Regions from separate parts of the Homo sapiens genome. Here region 1 is linked to region 2. Evidence: promoter capture Hi-C in human tissues and cell types (Jung and others, 2019). All regions are on one chromosome and are shown on one strand. Each heading gives the region's core, a stretch centred on a gene start or on the middle of the fragment in contact. The rest is flanking DNA. Distances are from core to core; before and after follow the strand shown.

Evidence for each region. Contacts are between HindIII fragments. The study calls those that stand out against the background at their distance.
Region 1: a contact is called between a fragment that was not itself captured here and the fragment with the promoter of JAKMIP2 in region 2, in 1 of the 25 tissues and cell types used here (hippocampus).

Annotation. Positions count from the first base shown.
Region 1 is chr5:147,731,257-147,735,111 of GRCh38, forward strand. All of the region lies in intron 1 of JAKMIP2 (janus kinase and microtubule interacting protein 2), which reads right to left. The region is part of intron 2 of LOC105378218 (a long non-coding RNA gene); the gene reads left to right. Among named protein-coding and RNA genes, the nearest start is that of JAKMIP2, 50 kb to the right of the region's middle. The HindIII fragment of the contact is 5,993 bases long and covers 1-3,855 here.
Region 2 is chr5:147,780,371-147,784,475 of GRCh38, forward strand. JAKMIP2 (janus kinase and microtubule interacting protein 2) reads right to left here and starts at 2,358. Exons shown (of 22, transcript NM_001270941.2): 1 at 2,086-2,358. The HindIII fragment of the contact is 11,129 bases long and covers 1-4,105 here.

The DNA.
Region 1 (3,855 bases), core at 196-2,695, 50 kb before region 2:
GATGAAATAAATCCTTTGGGGGGTTGCGAGGTAATTTACACTTCTGGGTAAAGCAATGGTAATATTTCAAGTAGCTCACGAAAGACTAACTTTACACCTGCTGTCCTGGTACGACTATTAGCAGTGTTCTAAAAGTGCCCAGGTCTGGACAATAAATTATACATAATACTCTTACTTCTGAAGCCTTGGGAATAAATGAGGACTGTTTGGAAGGATTCTCAATGAGGCTTTTGCAGAAGTTGTGAAAGTAGCAGTTTCTCAAATAACATACTTAAGTTCGTGATCTCTTAAATTAATGGTCATGTTTTTCTAGGAAGAAGACCTTTGGATTTACAGTCCCAGCAAGCACAGCAATGCCTTATTCTTTTTATCTAGATTATTTTCCTTTAAATTAATCGTCATGTTTACCCAGGAAGACCTTTGGATTTAGAGTCTCTGCAAGCACAGCAATGCCTCCTTCTTCCTTTTATCCAGATTATTTTCTTCCAAGACAACTGCAACAAAAGTTTTGAAAAATAGGTCACCTAGATTTCAAAACTATTTTGTTTCCAGCCATCTGGGGCTGAGGATGATTAGCTGTTCTTGGTATCATGGCAGAAACCCGACGCAACACATTTATTTGCACATCTCCCAGTGTTGCAGCATTGTTCTGGGTATTTGATATTCAGACGATGTATCAAGAATTTGAGCCTTGGAGAAGAAAACCACTCAGCATTTCAATTAGAATCAGTGTGTTGTGCATACAAAACATCACTACAGAAAATCTTGGAACATGTTGTATTATTACGTGGGTTTTTAAAACTAAATATTGCCAAGTAGTTGCAAGGTAAATTCTAATCTGCATGGGTGATCTCTTTTCCATCCCTGAGTTTTCCTCAAAGAAAGGTGGTAAATACAGACTCCCGGTTTGCACTTCCAAATTTTTACCCCTTTAGGTTTCCAGTCTATGTTTAGTGAATTCTTCTCAGCACACTTAATAGACTCTGTATAAAGCTTTGATTAAATGGCATCTAAGAAAGCATCCCATGTGAATCCATGTATTTCTTACAATGCCCAAAATAACTATAAAAATGTTTAGTGGCTTCATTTACAATAATTGCCATTTTTGTGCCCTTCCCCCATCTTGCTGGATAGATTCTTAATGTTCTTCTCTTTCACCATGCGTTTGTGGAGCTGCCAGCGTTCTATTCACAGCTGCTAATTATCAACACAGAAAACAGAGATGGCTCTATCTCTTGTAAGAGTATGTTAGAATTTAACTGCAGCTATTTCTCCTTGTCTGCCTCAATGGTGGATATAGGAGAAAACATAAGGCTAATTGTATTCAGATAGTAATAATGAGGTAATACTACTATTAAAATAATAATAGCAACTGTATATTGAACATTTACTAGGTGCAAAGAACTTTATTTGCATGATGTCATTAATCCTCACAAAACCCCACAATGTAAGTGCTTTCACTATATTATTTCAGTAAAGAAACTAAGCCTTAGAAAGGTTAACTAGCTTGCCCAGTGTCTCACAGCTGGGATCACACGATTTAAACCCAGGTTTTTCTGGCATTTGATTTTATTCTTAATTTCACGCTGTGATGTTTATCTTTTATGGTATTATGTTCTGAAATATCTAACACCATTCTGCCATTTGATCTCAAAGCATTGTATTAGAATTCTTCTGTCTTCCTGGCACCTTCAAAGAAATATCCAAAATTAAGATCCTTATAATGCTTACAGAATTTTAAGTTGATAGAGATTGGCTGTGCAAAACAACTTATAATTAACTCATGGTTTAGGTGAGGATTTTTTCAATCCATTAAACTCTGAAATTCTTAAGGAGAGAGATGGTATCAATCGTTTCATCCTCATTGATGAGCACAATAGTTGACAGGTAGTTGTCATCAGGAATGCTTATTGAGTAAATGTGGACAAAAAATAGACAAAAATGTTACTCATGATAATATAATTCACTTTAGATGTGAGAGCAACTCAGATACAAAAGCTGAAATGGACAATTTCAGTCCATGCTGAGCTGTGCTCAAAAAGGGATGGAATGAACAAAGAATGTCTTTATGTTTATGCTGTTACTGAGCTGCCTCATTCTTGCCTTTCCTAATTATTATCCTTTTGTGCTGGCACTTTCCACTTTGCTCCCTATGCCTTCTGGTCAGGCACTTCACTCACCCTTTGGAGAAAGCAATTTTTAAAAATATTTATCTTTTTTTATTATACTTTAAGTTCTGGGATACATGTGCAGAACATGCAGGTTTGTTACACAGGTATACATGTGCCATGATGGTTTGCTGCACCCATCAACCCATCATTTACATTAGGTATTTCTCCTAATGCTGTCCCTCCCCTACTCTCCCACCCGCTGACAGGCCCCGGTGCGTGATGTCCCCCTCCCTGTGTCCATGTGTTCTCATTGTTGGACTCCCACTTATGAGTGAGAACATGCAGTGTTCGGTTTTCTGCTCCTGTGTCAGTTTGCTGAGAATGATGGTTTCCAGTTTCATCCATGTCCCTACAAAGGACACAAACTCATCCTTTTTTATGGCTGCATAGTATTCCATGGTGTATATGTGCCACATTTTCTTTAACCAGTCTATCATTGATGGGCACTTGGGTTGGTTCCAAGTCTTTGCTATTGTGAACACTGCTGCAGTAAACATATGTGTGCAGGTGTCTTTATAGTAAGAATGATTTATAATCCTTTGGGTATATACTCAGTAATGGGATTGCTGGGTCAAATGGTATATCTGGCTCTAGAACCTTGAGGAATTGCCACACTGTCTTCCACAATGGTTGAACTAAATTACCCTCCCACCAACAGTGGGTGAAGGATATGAACAAACACTTCTCAAAATAAGACATTTATGTGGCCAATAAACATATGAAAAAAAGCTCATTATCACTAGTCATTAGAGAAATGCAAATCAAAACCACAATGAGATACCATCGCATGTCAGTTAGAATGGTGATCATTAAAAAGTCAGGAAACAACAGATGCTGGAGAGGATGTGGAGAAATAGGATGTGGCAAATATACACCATGGAATGCTATGCAGCCATAAAAAATAATGAGTTCATGTCCTTCCCAGGGACATGGATGAAGCTGGAAACCATCATTCTCAGCAAACTAACACAGGAACAGAAAACCAAACACCACATGTTCTCACTCATAAGTGGGAGCTGAACAATGAGAACATATGGACAGAGGGGGGAACATCACACAACGGGGCCTGTTGGAGGGTGGGGGGGCTAGGGGAGGGACAGCATTAGGAGAAATACCTAATGTTGATGACGGGTTGATGGGTGCAGCAAACCACCATGGCACATGTATACCTATGTAACAAGCCTGCACATTCTGCCCATGTATCCCAGAACTTATACTATAATACAAAAAAAAAAAAGGAACGCCTTTTTGTTTTTGTATTTATTTGTGATAAACTTTCCATCCTTTCATTTACCATTGCTGTTTCAGCACTTTTGCATGTAAGGTTATTGACAAAACTGATTGTTTTCCAAGAAGGACAACAGGAATTGATTTTGGGGTAAGATTTACAAACTACACGTAGATCATAACAAACTGCTAATAAACTGCCTTCTGTTTCTAGTGGGTTGTAAACAAAGTCTGATTTATCCTCTGTGTAAAGTGGACAGATGGAGGAGGTATCCCGAGGCCCTTGTAGACACCTATTTAAGAGTGAAATGCTCTACTACTGCAGGAAGCAGAGTAAATATCCTTTCAGTAGTTTTGCAAGAATGCAAACAGAGGGTCAGACAGGAAACACCTGAAAGTGGTATTCCTGCGATCTGCATATGCTGGGTCAGATCTCTGCTACTGAGGTGTCTCTATT
Region 2 (4,105 bases), core at 1,108-3,607:
AAAAAAGAAACAAAAACAAAGCCCCAGGATATCTGCTTTCATTGCATGAAATGGGGTCAACTAGTACAAATCTTAATTTTTTAAGTGTGCTATAGGCATATCTAACATTTTAATTTTTGGAAGTCAAGTGTTATCACTAAAAGATTCAGGATGCAATGTGTTATACAATTTGTTATAACATACAAGCCCAGTACCTCTTTCCTTGCCCTACTTCATATAGTTGTTAAAATTAGGCACAAAGTAGCATGAGTTTACAAAGCTATGGATCTATAATATATAACATGCTATGAGCACATGCACAATTGAGTCACCAAGGGCCCTTCTCATGTATAAACCAAATAGAACAATTATTCTCAGCAAAATTAAACTATAAACCTGGTTCAAATACATGTGAAAATTATAAATGTGGGGGGTGTATGTAGAATCAGATGCAAGACTAAAGACCCAAACAATTGTTATTTTACATTGTAAAAAATGTCTGTACTGACAATGATATTGTTAGAGAAGAGAATAATGGATAAAACTATAATAGCCCATGTGGTAAATGTAATATTACTAATACACTTTACCTACATAATTTTTTCTGGCTTTAATTCAATGAAATCCATTATCCTGGGCGGGAATGGAACCTCCTCATCTCACGCATCTTTAGTCTCCTGAACTGCCTTAAAGCCTTGACATAATAAAAGGTCAAGCAGATCCCAGTAAGCATTTGTAAATTACAATAGACCCCCATTTCAGCTACAAGCCACACATTCTCCTGCTCGCTTTGCTCACTCTCTGGTTTCATTTCATTGTATAAGCAGACTAATTTGGAAACGGCTGGGCTAGGGTGCTTGGGAATACCTAGATTTTCAAAACAATCCTACTTTCCTACTTAATTATTTACAGAAGGAGACCCTTAATACAACATCTGAGAGAACTGTGAAATGGTTCCTGGATACTGAAGGAATGAACATCAGATAGCAGCACTATTAAATAAAATGAATACATTTCACCTTCCAGCTTAGCTGTGCTTCCTGGGACACAAGGCACAAACATGAAAAGGTTGGGGTGGCATTTCAAGAAAACTGATTTGCTTCAACATTGATTTGGTAAGATGCTAGACACAAAATAATACCACAAACCGCCTCCCATTCCCATCATTGTAAATTCAGAGTCCTCAATATCATCCCCCACAAACCCAATTAAAAATAAAGAGGCAGGCTACAAATTTGCATCTAGTTCTATGACACAGATCAAACGATAGGCATCTGTTCCAATCGGTCACAATGAAACTAAGGGACAATAACCAGAGTAAATTTCACATTAATCCAAATAAAGCCAATGAATAATAATATAAACCAGAAGCATAGTTTCAAAAACATGCAATTACTTCCAGGCATGCAAGGACATATGTAACCCATAAAAATGGTTGCAAAGCACACCCTACATATAAATATGCTTCATAAATGCAATATAAATGCTAAGTGACATGTGTATATATGATCTGTATATCCATAAGATATACATGTGTAAGTTCACAGTCAAATCTACGTATAAAATAAAACTGGGTCTTGCAAATGATTTCTCAACAAGAGTATATTAGAATATAAAATAAAATGTCAAATTCTGGGGCCACTTTTTCTAAGCAATCAATAAAATAAGCAAAACCACCTTATAATGAGTCTGGTAAGCTTATGAGACACCAAATGTATTTCTGAAGAAGGCCCAACCCTGTATGTGAGAGCTGCAAATGAAATGATTCCTTTCAATAACACCCTCTTCTTGTTGTTAGCTCTTTTTCCAACCCCTGATGCTGTTGCTAAGCTTAGGAAAAAAGGCACCAAGTGGCTCAGTCTGCATTCTGAGCCAGTTAGAGATAAAATCAGAACACCATTTTTTTTTTTTAAACACAAGAGGTTGTCTTCTCACTTCTCTCTTCCTGGCAAGCTTCCTCTCCCTCCATCCTCATCTCTGTCTCCACATCTCCCCCTTCTAGTCTGAGGCACGGGAGTCATTGTTCAAGTTCAGGCCAGAAATGTATACACAGGTCAAATAAGAACACTCTAAACCAAGAAGGGAGCCCTACTGTTTCCTACTCACCATGCTGAGACCCGGAGAAGCTGTTTAAAGGAGGGAGAGATGCAAACTGAATCCATTTTCCTTGTGACCGAGTCGGATGCAGCCTCCGAACCCAACATCAGCAGTGGCTGCCGGTTTTTTTTTTCCCTCTGTCTCTGGTTGGCGATGGTGCGAATAGGAACCACCCTTCCAGCCCCACTAGAGTATCAGCAATAGAGGCGGCGGCGGCGGCAGCAGCAGCAGCAGCAGCATCACCAGTTGGGCCTCCTCCCTCTCGGAGGATGGGGTGAGCTCGGAAGCAGCCAGGAACTTGCAGCAGACACCTCCTCTGGCTCCTCCTCTCTCTCTCCCCCTCCCCCAGTGCCCCACCCCTGCTGCGGTAGAGGCTGCTGGCCCGGCAGCTGCTGGTTGCCATGGCAATGACCAATGATAAGCGACCAAGCTCAGGGGGAGGGGAGATGGGCGAAGCAAGCTGCAGGGTCTGGAGGGGAGTGAATTTGTGCTGCTGCCCTCTAGGATGCTCTTGATGTCTCCTACCCTGAACTCCAGGTCTTTTTAAAAATGGGGCAAGGGGGGCTAGGCACGGGGAGAGAATAATTAAAATTTAATTGAAATCTAGATAGAAACATACCAACGGCTTAGCTATTTTTTGCATTTTCTGTGGTTTTCCAATAAAAAGTATGAAATTTATTATCAGAAAAATAACAACAAATGTGGAGAAAATTATGTCGCATAATAGCAGATTATTATTACTTCCAAACGTGTTCGTCCTTTATAGCATCTTTTACTCAATACCAGGCAACAAGGTTTTTAGAAAGCAAACGGAGTGGCTGGACTTTGTAATAAATTAAGAGTCTGGTTGATTCCTTTGCACTACTCCCGGCTTGTTCTCAGGTGAGTTACTTGGTTTCACTGTTTTTCCAGCTACCCTTCTGAACAGGACTTGGAGGTAATTGACACATCCCTGAGGAAAAGTAAGTTTGGATAGAGACCGAAATTCCTTTCAACAACCACTATTCTCGGTAGCACAAGTTGGTGGACAGTTCCCAATCTTTTTAGTGTCAAACTCCTGGAGCATTCAATTTCCTGCAGGCAATTCCTGTCGTTTTCATGGATGCCTTTTTGGAGTTCCGAAGTCAGTTGGCAGTCAGGGTGGTGGGCAGGAAAAGGGGGAAGTGAAATCAGCAATGTCCAGTTCTAGGCGAGTTCTGTTTCTAACTATAAATTATAGATGACACCAGTATTTATCTCGTGGAGGGGTTGTAAAGATTGAATGAGATAATGCACTAAAAGCACTTGGCATATAGTAAGTGTACAATAAATATTTACTATTAGCAGCATAGTAGTACATTGCAGCCATCTCTTAATCTAAGGGTTTAAGGGGAATAACATGGCAATTTCAGGTAGGAGAAAAAATTAAGATGAGAAAATCCAAAGTACGTAATAACCATGATGATGATGGCAAAGACAGAGAGGCCCTAAGAGATTAAGTGTTCTCTACATCTTGATATTTGAGGACATTGTAAATCTCAGAGGAGTTAGATACATTTCCCAAATTCACAACTGATAAACGACAGAACCGGAATCAAAATGGACTCTTCTAACACTTACATTTGCTCTCCTAACCACCACACTTTTCTGCCACTCCTCCATAAAATGGAAATAATCTTTGTTCTTAATCCACAGAGTTATTTACAGGTTCAAATGGGTTTAACACAAGTTCCAGAGTCAGACGATCTAGGCTCCATTCCTAGCGCCAGTATTTACTATAGGTATAATCTGGAACATATTTATTAACTTCCTCAAATCTATGTTTCTTCATCTGTAAAAAGAAATAATCACAGAACCTCATGAGTCATTACAAAAATTAAACTAGATGACGTGTGTAAAATGTACGGTCTTTAGCAGATAGGAAATGTTCAATAAATGTAGCTACAGTTACTTGTTACTCATTTGTAAGTAACTAATATTAAAACATGAGAAGACTTTTTCCTGCATGGTGTCACTCTTAATGTCAGGGGCTTCTTCTAATAAAACTGGC